3 separate regions of the Homo sapiens genome follow, and regions 2 and 3 are each linked to region 1. The links are contacts of gene promoters, found by promoter capture Hi-C in blood cells and fetal thymus (Javierre and others, 2016). All regions are on one chromosome and are shown on one strand. The core of a region is centred on a gene start or on the middle of the fragment in contact, and the rest is flanking DNA. Distances in the headings are between cores, read along the strand shown.

The links. The method cuts DNA at HindIII sites, captures the fragments that hold promoters and counts their contacts. A CHiCAGO score of 5 or more calls a contact.
Region 2: a contact is called between a fragment that was not itself captured here and the fragment with the promoter of ZFYVE1 in region 1, in 2 of 17 cell types (naive CD4 T cells and total CD8 T cells). The highest score is 6.1, in naive CD4 T cells.
Region 3: a contact is called between a fragment that was not itself captured here and the fragment with the promoter of ZFYVE1 in region 1, in 2 of 17 cell types (neutrophils and total CD8 T cells). The highest score is 5.1, in neutrophils.

What each region holds. Positions count from the first base shown.
Region 1 is chr14:73,025,194-73,029,009 of GRCh38, forward strand. It overlaps ZFYVE1 (zinc finger FYVE-type containing 1), which reads right to left and starts at 1,913. Exons shown (of 12, transcript NM_021260.4): 1 at 1,733-1,913. RefSeq lists a silencer at 1,616-1,825 and an enhancer at 2,056-2,255. The HindIII fragment of the contact is 5,815 bases long and covers 1-2,609 here.
Region 2 is chr14:73,457,029-73,460,510 of GRCh38, forward strand. It overlaps NUMB (NUMB endocytic adaptor protein), which reads right to left and starts at 1,518. Exons shown (of 13, transcript NM_001005743.2): 1 at 1,465-1,518. RefSeq lists silencers at 1,242-1,371, 1,382-1,471, 1,662-1,861 and enhancers at 1,847-2,380, 2,381-2,914. The HindIII fragment of the contact is 253 bases long and covers 1,712-1,964 here.
Region 3 is chr14:73,476,707-73,480,520 of GRCh38, forward strand. HEATR4 (HEAT repeat containing 4) reads right to left here. Exons shown (of 18, transcript NM_001220484.1): 18 at 1,778-2,136. The coding sequence ends at 1,900. Among named protein-coding and RNA genes, the nearest start is that of RIOX1, 12 kb to the right of the region's middle. The HindIII fragment of the contact is 5,334 bases long and covers 1-3,814 here.

The DNA of each region.
Region 1 (3,816 bases), core at 663-3,162:
AAGGAGCTGGGATTACACGCGCTAGCCACAATGCCCAGCTAATTTTTGTATTTTTAGTAGAGACGGGGTTTCACCATGTTGGCCAGGCTGGTCTTGAACTCTTGACCCCAGGTGATCTGCCCGCCTTGGCCTCCCAAAGTGCTGGGATTACAGGCGTGAGTCACCGCACCTGGCCAGAAATCTCATTTTCTATCTTAACACTTACACTGGCTTGTTGTATAGCCAGGCGCAGTGGCTCACACCTGTAATTCCATCACTTTGGGAGGCCGAGGTGGGCAGATCACTTGAGGTCAGGAGTTCGAGACTACCCTGTCCAACATGGTGAAATCCCATCTCTACTAAAAATACAAATATTAGCTGGGCATGGTGGCAGGCACGTGTAATCCAAGCTACTAGGGAGGCTGAGGCAGGAGAATCACTTGAACCCAGGAGGCGGAGGTTGCAGTGAGCCAAGATCTTGCCACTGCACTCCAGCCTGGAAGACAGGGCAAGACTCCCTCAAAAAAAAAAAAAAAAAAAAAAATCTCAAAATTGTGGCTAAAGCTCCTCCTCTTGACAACAAACGCCACCTCTAGGCCCAAGGCATTTAAGAGACTTTGCTGCTCTATTTCCCAGACTGGAATTTTCTGTTCATTCAGATATTAAATTCAGAATCTAAATCACTAAGTGAGTAGTCCTTGGAAGGACAGCCCTCTGCACCCCCACATGCATCCCACAATTGGGAGGAGTGGAGAGGCCTTCACAAAGCTAATGAAAATGTAATAATAAACTTTAGATCTATCAAATACCTGGGCCGACCTGGTTAGCCTTGTAACTGGATTGTTTCAACTCTAGCTAGATGTATATTAAAGACTCAAAACTTAGAAACAATAGTAACAATTTCATCTTTAAAAACAATTTTTTTACACTGTAATTCTTCTGTCCCTTCTTTCACTAACTGAAAAAAAAAAAAAAAAGGAGCAACAGGAGACAATTCCTCTACTTTGACCCATGGCAAAGCCAGGCCTGCAGTGAATCAAAACAAATAATTTTTCTCTTTGTCACTTAAAAACTAACTTAAAAATAACTTCAAAATACGAAAAAAGATAACTGGGGCAAGAAAGGGGCTTTTGTCACTTTGACAATTATATTCCTAATTCCCCCTAGCCTTGACCCGCATTCCAAGGCCCCGACAAGGTGTAAAGCCCTGCCTTTCTGATAGTCACTCCTCCCCTACAGTAATCAATCTATCAACCTTATTTTCAGATAAACAAGGAAGGCGAAGGGAGTGACTAGGGGATCTTATTTACTACAATCTAACCTCAGACATGCCCAGCCAGCTCCCAAAACAGAAACAAAAATCAAACTTGTCACAATTGAGAAAAATATAAAATCAACCTTCAAAAGTACACCTCACGCCCGGCCATGTCAACCAAACATTTTGCCCACTCGGGCCCCCACCTCGACACCTCTCCCCAGCCGGGGGTTCCTCACCCTTCCTTCCACCCGGACACCACCGCCACAACCCGAGGGGCAGGAGCGGAGCCTAAGAACAAAGAAGGTCCCCCAAAATCCCCCCCACGCCGGCAAAACCCGGAGCCGAATCCATTGTTTATACCACCCCACCCCCACCCCCGCCGCACCCGCCCCCCCTTCCTCCCGAGGGCAGCCTGAGCCCCAGGACGATCACTCGCCCCGCGCTGGGCCGTGCCCTCCCCGCCCTGCCCTGCCCGCCGCGGCCCGGGGATCCCACCACTGAGAAGCTCGGCCGCAGCAAGGCGGCGTCGGGGGGCCGCAGGGCGCCAGTGGGGGCAGAGGCTATTCCTCAGGACACCGGCAGATCCATCCTCATCTCCATCTCCGCCACCCTCCTCCTTCGTTGCCTCCCGGGCTTCCTCCTCTCCTGTTGTCAGTTGGGATCAGCTGATCGGAGTGAACTTCTCCCAGCTCGGACTAACAGGAAGGCGTGAGCGGTGCAGCCCAGAAAGGGAGGAGCGAGAGAGGGAGGATCCCGGCGCCAGCAAGGGCGTAGTGCGCACTGCCTCCTGGGAGATGTAGCTCCTCGAGGCGCGCTCTCGCCCCTCATCCCGGAAAGGAAGACTCTGAATGACTACAACTCCCAGTACTGAAGAGGCTGCTCTTGCGAGGAGGCGGTGGGGACAGGCTACGGAGGATTTCGGGACTTGGAGTTTTTGCATTGAGTGTGGTGTCCGCAGGTTTCAGCACGTTCTTTTGGGTTGTAACTGGGGAAGGCATGGTGCTACATTAGAGAACTGATGTAATAATGTCTAGTATAAGTGGGAAATGGTGAGTCAATTAATTTGGATTCAAGTAACCTCTTGCACACCATTCCCTCAGAAACGTGTGAGCACAGACAGTCTCCACCTTCCCAATTTCACTTCGCAAAAACTAAGGAAAAGACCAGAAAAAGTGATAAGAGGATATAGGTACTCTTGGGAAGTTTTTGTTGTTTTTCCCCCCTTGGCAAAGGACAAAATTACAACGAATTTAGTTTTAAGATCTCAGTTGGCTTTATTGCGACTCTAGGATCAGGCAACACTTCATTCCAGAAAGTGGAGTGAATGTTCTGATGAGCTGAGCAGGAGAGGTTGGCTTTGTAGACAGAGAAAAGCTTGAGGAAGCAAAAGCAAAGAACAAAGAGCATATTGGTTTCTTTCTTTCTCTTTCTTGTCATTCTTTTCTTTCCTCTTTCTTCTCTTTTTTTCAGTCTTCTCATGGGACCTTGACATATTGGTCACTTCTAAGCTACTTTCCTTGGAAGGTGAGGACAGAGAGACAGAACAATAGAAAAATAACTGATTAGTTGACATCAGTTACTTCAGGCTACTTCTTTTGTGTAAGGATTACAACAGAGGGAGCTTCATTATCATGCAACATTAAAACAAGCCTGTTTGGGAAACTGGCTGTCCTTATCCCTCTTTCCTGATTTCTCTGAAGGTCAGATAACAACTTAGCTTGGGTTTGGTAACAACTTAGTTTGGATTTGGTGAGGTGAAACTTTAGCATGGGTGACTCCATTTTTATTTTAGCCAGGTCTATTGGGGCCTGGTGCAGGAGTTTAGTCCAAAACAAAGGCCTCCTATCATTTTTACTTAACACCCTTCAAGGGTATTCTCCAAGCCAACCATGAATTTTTTTTCCTACCTATTATTTTTCTGATCTTTCCTTCTATAGTTTCAGAACTTCTCAGGCTGGGCGCGGTAGCGCATGCCTGTAATCCCAGCACTTTGGGAGGTCGAGGTGGACGGATCACCTGAGGTCGGGCGTTCGAGACCAGCCTGACCAACATGGAGAAACTCCATCTCTACTAACAGATACAAAATTAGCCGGGCGTGATGATGCATGCCTGTAATCCCAGCTACTCGGTAGGCTGAGGCAGGAGAATTGCTTGAACCTGGGAGGCAGAGGTTGCAGTAAGCCGAGATCACGCCATGGCACTCCAGCCTGGGCAACAAGAGGGAAACTCTGTCTCAAAAAAAAAAAAAAAAAAAAGCTATTATACTTTCAGAACTTCTCAATTTGAAATTATCTTTGAGGGCCAGGCACGGTGGCTCATGCCTGTAATCCCAGCACTTTGGGAGGCCAAGGAGAGCGGATCATGAGCTCAGGAGTTCAAGACCAGCATGGCCAACATAGTGAAACCTCATCTCTACTAAAAATACAAAACATTAGCTGGGTGTGGTGGTGTGCACCTGTAATCCCAGCTACTCGGGAGGCTGAGGCAGGAGAATCACATGAACCCGGGAGGCAGAGGTTGCAGTGAGCCAAGATCGCACCATTGCACTCCAGCCTGGGCAACAGTGCAAGACTCTGTCT
Region 2 (3,482 bases), core at 588-3,087, 430 kb after region 1:
CAAATACCAACTCACATGAAAAAAAAAACACCACCACCACCTTATAAAGTAGGAACTATTACTATTAGTATTCTGATGAGGAAACTGCACAGAAACTTAGCTAAGTGGTGGAACTAGAACTCAAAACTTCTTTTCACTTTAGCCGAGTATGCCTACCCTCTTTCTGATAAGTATTTACTTCTACTCCTTTAGTTCAGCTACTCCTCCCCTTTTCCCTCCCAAATTCCCCACCCTGTCAATGAACCTATTTCCTAATATTACTGCCATCATCCTAAAACAAATTTCTTTTCTAAAACAAGTCACTTAACCTTGCTTTTAGGAGCTTTGCTTTGGTCCTAGATGTCATCTTGATATTAATTACGAAACTGAAGTTTCTTCTATTTGTGAAGACCTGTGAACCTACATGGCTCCACTGTTAATTTCTCATATATCTACTGTCCTAGCCAGTTCCACGAAACCATTACTCTCTCCTCGGGCAACTTTCTTTCTCTACCTTATCCCCTCCTATAGGGATTCTCTCCCACCTCCGCCCATCTCCGTCCCATTTTGCATGACTCCTCTCCGACCGAGGGAACTTCCACTCCCCTGCTGGCTCCTCACCCCGGTCTCAAACGCGAGCCACTCCTCGAGGACTTCTTTCCTGGTCCCTTAGGGATCCTCAGAGCCGGAGCGGCCAGGCCAGTTGGGTCTCCCATCCCAGCTCAGCTATGGGGGCGCAGGGAGCTCCGGTTCTTCCCCCAGGCGGTGCAAGATCTCTACTCGTCCGACCCTCCGAAGACCTGCTGCTCCTCATCTCTCCAGGAGCCCCCTCCCTTGGACAGCCGCTTTTCTCAGGAGGGTCCCCAACCCCCTCCGAGCGTTTCCTCAGACGCCCCTACTTGGAGCAAGTCTGCTCCCTGTCACCCGGGACCCTGGCCACCCTCGGCCTTCCTACCTCCCTCGGACCGGGGCCACTCCCAGTTCCCCTGCCCCCCACCCCGCTCTCTCCTCACCGGCCGCTGCCGGGCTTCCCGGATTCCTTTTCTCCCTGGCACCCAAGCCGTCCTGGGTATTCCCAAGACACCCCGCCCTTGAAGCAGGTCGTTACAGGTCACCCCCTCTCTGGGACCCTGGCCGCTTCCGTTTCCTCAGATACCTACTCCTCACACAGTGGCCGCCGGTCAGCGCGCTAGACCGGAGCAGCTGGACGTCCCAAGGGACCTCCTGGCCTGACCCGCGCGGGTCCGGCCGTAGCCTACCTTCCTCGGGAGAACTCCGCAGCCAGAAGCCCAGCCCCTCTCCCCCTAGCCCAGTCAGCGCGAACTCGCCGCCGCCCCCGCCGCCTCCGCCCTGGCCCCGGCCCCGGCCCGGGCCCCGACCCGAAGTCCAGGCCCCCTTCCTCCGGCCTCCGCCTCCGGAGTGCTGAGCTGGAGATTCCGCCCCGCGACGGCCCCCAGATCTCTGACCCGCGTTACCGGCACTCACCTGCCGCTGCCCCCGACCAACTCAAGCGCCACTGCCTCTACCTCGGCCGCCAGTGGCCACCAAGCGCCACCACCTCCCCCATGACAACAGGCCCACCCTCTTTCATACTTCTAACCTATCCATTGGATAGTGGGGCGGCAGCTCTCCTCTCTGATTGGTTTAGTATACCCGCCCGTCATCGCTCTTTACCGCCCCTTTTCCTAAACCCGGTATTCGCCCCCGCCCGGACCTGGAGCGTCCTAGCCCAAGCTTTAGTTGTAATTGGTTGAGGGTTGGGCAATTCGAAGTTATGATAGGCTGCTAAAAGTGTCTGTTAAGCTAACTGGCAAGAGACGTGACGGTTAAGGTTGATTCACGCTTGTGCACAGTTTGGTTGCGCAGTAGAAAGCAAAGGAGGGGCAGACGCTCACATTCGTGGTTACCCGGGAAGGGTTAAGTCTTTGTTGTAGAGTTTTCTCTGTAAACTTTTCCACTTCTCCAGCTCACTTCCTGCAAGGAGAAGCTTATCTCTGCTAGCTTTATTCATAGGGGTAGTACTTACAAAACACCAACATTAGAGGTTGTGTTTAAGAAGTGTTTCCAAGCCCTGGGGAGAAAGGTATCAGAGAGATAAAAATGTCCCCTTCTTTTCTTTGGTCTCAATGCATCCAATTTCATTGAAGTTCTTTCCAGGAGCCTCAATGCTAAAGGGCAAAGCGCAAACTTTCATTTAGCAGAAATCAGTCAACTTCGGTTGCAATTATAAATGTCGTCAATAAACTGAAGTGGCGTATTGAGAGTTCTCCAGCTTCCAGATCCACTCCTGGCTGACCCCTGCCAATTGACCAGACAGCCATTAGCAACTTTTTTTTTTTTTTTTTTTTTCTGTGAGACGGAGTTTCTCTCTTGTTGCCCAGGCTGGAGTGCAATGGTGCTATCTCGGCTCATCGCAACCTACGCCTCCCAGGTTCAAGCGATTCTTCTGCCTTAGCCTCCCGAGTAGCTGGGATTATAGGCATGAGACGGGGTTTCTCCATGTTGGTCAGGCTAGTCTCGAACTCCCAACCTCAGGTGATCCGCCCGCCTCGGCCTCCCAAAGTGCTGGTATTACAGGCGTAAGCCACCGCGCCCGGCCAGCAACTTTCTAATAAGCGGGCCACATTATACCCTTTATGATGCTCTGGAAATGAGAATTCTGCTTTCCCCCACCTCTCACTGCCACTTTGTTTTTCTGTTCAGCAGTTCTTAAATAGCCCTACTAGCTGTGTGTCAGATACTTTAAAAGCTTCTCTCTCTCTCTCTCTTTTTTTTTTCTAAACCTCTTCCTAGCAGTCTAAATTAGGGCCATTGAATGAATTGCCGGGTTGTGTGTGTGTGTGTTTTTTTTTTTTCCTCACTTGGCACAATGCACAAGAATAAATGATTGCATTTTTTATTCACTTGGGTACAAATCACAGTAGGCATTTTTGAGAAATCTAATGTTGCTATAAAAACTCTTGTGCTCCTAGAAATATATTCATCATTAGCTTTTTGTTTTTCCTTTTTTTTCACCCACTTTTCCTGCTCCTAAATAACAAAATGCTGGTCTGATTACTCTTTCAGTTTCTAAATCAGATTTAAATGTACTTTCTCACAACCCCACCTATGATACATATACCCATGGGCCATGAAACAACACCCAGGGATAGTTTAAGACACTGTCAGGCCGTGCGGTGGCTCATGCCTGTTATCCCAGCACTCTGGGAGGCCGAGCCGGGCAGATCACCTGAGGTCAGGAGTTTGAGACCAGCCTGACTAACATGGTGAAACCCCTGTCTCTGCAGATGGTGCCACTGCACTCCAGCCTGGGCAACAGAGTGAGACTCTGTCTTAAAAAAAAAAAAAAAAAAAGACACTGTCAAGGAGGCATTCACCTCAAGGATGTGGACTTTGGAAATGTGCTTTGTCTCTTTCTTCTTTCTGCTAACCCTTTGTCTCATATTTCTTCTATTTACTAACCTCCTTGTTCTTTGCAGAGCAAGCTACAAAGAGTCTAAAAC
Region 3 (3,814 bases), core at 1-2,500, 450 kb after region 1:
ATGAAATGACAAATTCAAAGATAGAGGGGCTGAGAAAGTGCTCATACAGAATTATTCATTGTCTTGAATGTCTCATAGTAGCCAGATCCCAGAATCCTCAGGTTAGATGCGGAAGTAACTTTGATCCATGTGATAGTGCTTTTTAGATTAGTATTTCACTTAAAGGGAAAGTGTAAAGTAATACACATTCCATGGGTTACATGAGTCAAGGAAAGGGAAGAGTTTCTGTTACGAAGTTAGCTCATATCCCCAAAGACCCCCCCACCACCGTGTTTCATAGCAGTCAGGAATTTATAGAAGAAAATATTGCGTGCGCTCTCTCACTCTCTCTCTCTCTCTCTCCATATATATATATATATATATATATATATATATATATATATATATATTTTTTTTTTTTTTTTTTTTTTTTTTTTAGATGGTGGAGCCTTACTCTGTCGCTCAGGCTGGAGTGCAGTGGCGAGATCTCGGCTCAATGCAACATCCGCCTCCCAGGTTCAAATGATTCTCCTGCCTCAGTCTCCGGAGTAGCTGGGATTACAGGTGCCTGCCACCATGCCCCGCTAATTTTTGTATTTTTAGTAGAGACGGGGTTTCACTATGTTGGCCAGGCTGGTCTCGAAATCCTGACCTCAGGTGATCTGCCTGCCTCGGCCTCCCAAAGTGCTGGGATTACAGGCATGAGCCTCCATGCCCGGCCTTGCTTTTTATATTTTTGACAATAACAGAGCCACGGGAAGAAAGGATGTGATTAGGGGAAGAAAAAAGGGGAGAGGTTCATGTTGTCTTTATTTTCATTAATGAATGTCTCAAACATTTTAGGGTATAAATAGCAATCAGTATTTAGGAAAGGAAGCTGGATTCACACTACTTGGAAATCTGGGTCTTTACTCATCCATGGCAATTTTTGGGTATCATGTGCTCTTACAGAATCTCATCTTATGATATAGATTCAGTTTACAGCTATTCTATGATGCTTGAGTATTTCAAATATTAAGTACATTGAGGCTCATGAGAATTGCTAATCTGCCGTGTGAAACTGCAGAGTTGTTTCCCAAGGGTAGAGATGCATTCACATCCACCCACATAGTACAAAGGGGGAAATGATTACGCTGGCCTGGATTTTTTGTAATAGTCCCGTGACATGGCTTCCACATTGCTCTGTGGGCTGTGGTTAAAGAACCTAATCTAGAACAAGACAAGACTTGTAGATTTAAAAAGTCACCTAAGCTGTTTCTTTCCTAGACAAATGGGATTCTAGTTTGGGTTTTATTTTATTTTATTATTTTTTGAGACAGTCTCATTCTGTCATCCAGGCTGGAATGCTGTGGCGCAATCTCGGCTCACTGCAAACTCTGCCCCCTGGGTTCAAGCTATTCTCCTGCCTCAGCCCACCTAGTAGCTGGGATTACAGGTGTGTGCCACCACACTCAGCTAATTTTTTTGTATTTTTAGTAGAGACGAGGTTTCACCATGTTAGCCAGGATGGTTTCAAACTCCTGGCCTCATGTGATTCACCCACCTTGGCCTCTCAAAGTGCTGGGATTATAGGCATAAGCCACAGTGCCCAGCCCTAATTTGAGTTTCAGAGGGCAATTTGTACCGTTTGGAAAAGATGCTGGATCCTTCAATATTACTGCTTTAGAAAGATTTGGAACTCTGACCCATATTTAGTACATGACCTTTCTGGGGCGTGGAAAAATATGCTCTGTCATCTAATGTGATGTCAATTTTCTTTAACCTTCCATGTAAATAGTGCGCATTAAGACATGAGGTCTACTGTTAAATAATTTCTCTTTATAAACATAGTGACAACAAGATTGTACAGTATCAATTAAAAAGACCCAATGTGACCAGGTCCACTGCTTCCTGCATCTTGAAGTAAGACAAGTGTTCAGCTTAGAGATGAGCACCTTTCTTTCCAGAGGGAGAAGACATGATGGGAGAAAAAAATGTTCTCTCTGAGAATTTACCCAGATAAAGAGCTGGGTAGTCGGATCTAAATGGTCCCACAGCAATCCTTTTCTCGGGGGAGGTGCGTAGATCTTTGACAAGTGATGAACGAACTTTGCTTCGTGTGGTTAGGCCTGGGACTGAACTTTGTAACCAGGGATTTGGTGCGCGGGGCTTCACAGGCTGCAGAGAAACATGAAAACATGAGTGCATATGCCAAACGTGTCTCATGTGAGCGGCAGAGCCCAAGTGAAGGCCTCTTTGGCTATAGGGTGTCTCCTTTTTTTTTTTCTTTTTGAGACGGAGTCCCACTCTGTCGCCCAGGCTGGAGTTCAGTGGCGCAATCTCGGCTTACTGCAATCTCCGACTCCCGGGTTCAAGTGATTCTCTTGCCTCAGCCTCTGAAGCAGCTGGGATTACAGGCGCCCGCCACCACGCCCAGCTAATTTTTTTGTTTGTTTGTTTGTTTTTTTTGAGACGGAGTCTCACACTCTCTCCCAGGCTGGAGTGCAGTGGCGCCATCTCGGCTCACTGCCAGCTCCGCCTCCCGGGTTCACGCCATTCTCCTGCCTCAGCCTCCCGAGTAGCTGGGACTACAGGCGCCCACCACCACGCCCAGCTAATTTTTTGTATTTTTAGTAGAGACGAGGTTTCACCGTGTTAGCCAGGAGGGTCTCAATCTCCTGACCTTGTGACCAGCCCGCCTCGGCCTCCCAAAGTGCTGGGATTACGGTGTCAGCCACTGCGCCCGGCGTTTTTTTTTCTTTCTTTCTTTCTTTCTTTTTTTTTTTTTTTTGAGACGGAGTTTCGCTCTTGTTGCCCAGGCTGGGGTGCAATGGTGCGATCTCGGCTCACCGCAACCTCTGCCCCCAGAGTTCAAGGGATTCTCCTGCCTCAGCCTCCCAAGTAGCTGGGATTACAGGCATGCGCCACCACACCCTACTAATTTTGTATTTTTAGTAGAGACAGCGTTTCTCCATGTTGGCCAGGCTGGTCTCGAACTCAGGTGATCCGCCGGCCTCGGCCTCCCAAAGTGCTGGGATTACAGGCATGAGCCTCCGCTCCCGGCCACGCCCAGCTAATTTTTTTGTATTTTTAGTAGAGACAGGGTTTCACCATGTTGGCCAGGCTGGTCTTGAACTCCTGACCTCATGATCTGCCTGCCTCAGCCTCCCAAAGTGCTGAGATTACAGGCGTGAGCCACCATGCCCAGAGATTATTCTTTAATTAATCTCAAAAGCCTAACACCAGGGTAGTCTCTCTCAGCCTACTCTGGCTTGAAAAGCTGCCCATTAAAAAATAAAAATAAAAGCCTAACACCAGAGTTCGATATATGTTCACTCACACATTTGTAGAAGGAACACAATATCTCTTATAATATTCTTTACTTCACTAATAAGTTATAATTTCAGCTATACATTATATGGCGTTATTACTAGTTAAGTAATAAAACCAATGTATTATTTATCTTGTTTTTCATTTCTTAAAAAATGAATAATTGGCTGGGCACGGTGGCTCACACCTGTGATCCCAGCACTTTGGGAGGCCAAGGCAGGCAGCTCACTTGAGGTCGGGAGTTCAAGACCAGCCTGGCCAACATGGTGAAACCCCATCTCTACTAAAAATACAAAAATTAGCCAGGCATGGCGCAGATGCCTGTAATCTCAGCTACTCGGGAGGCTGAGGCAGAAGAATCGCTTGAACCAGGAGGCAGAGGTTGCAGTGAGCCAAGATTGCGCCACTGTACTCTAGCCTGGGCGACAGAGAGAGACTTTGTCTCAAAATAAAAAAAGATTAATCAATTATAATGGACCATATTATTTTAATTTTAATTTTCAAGATTTATTCTTATATTTGTTAT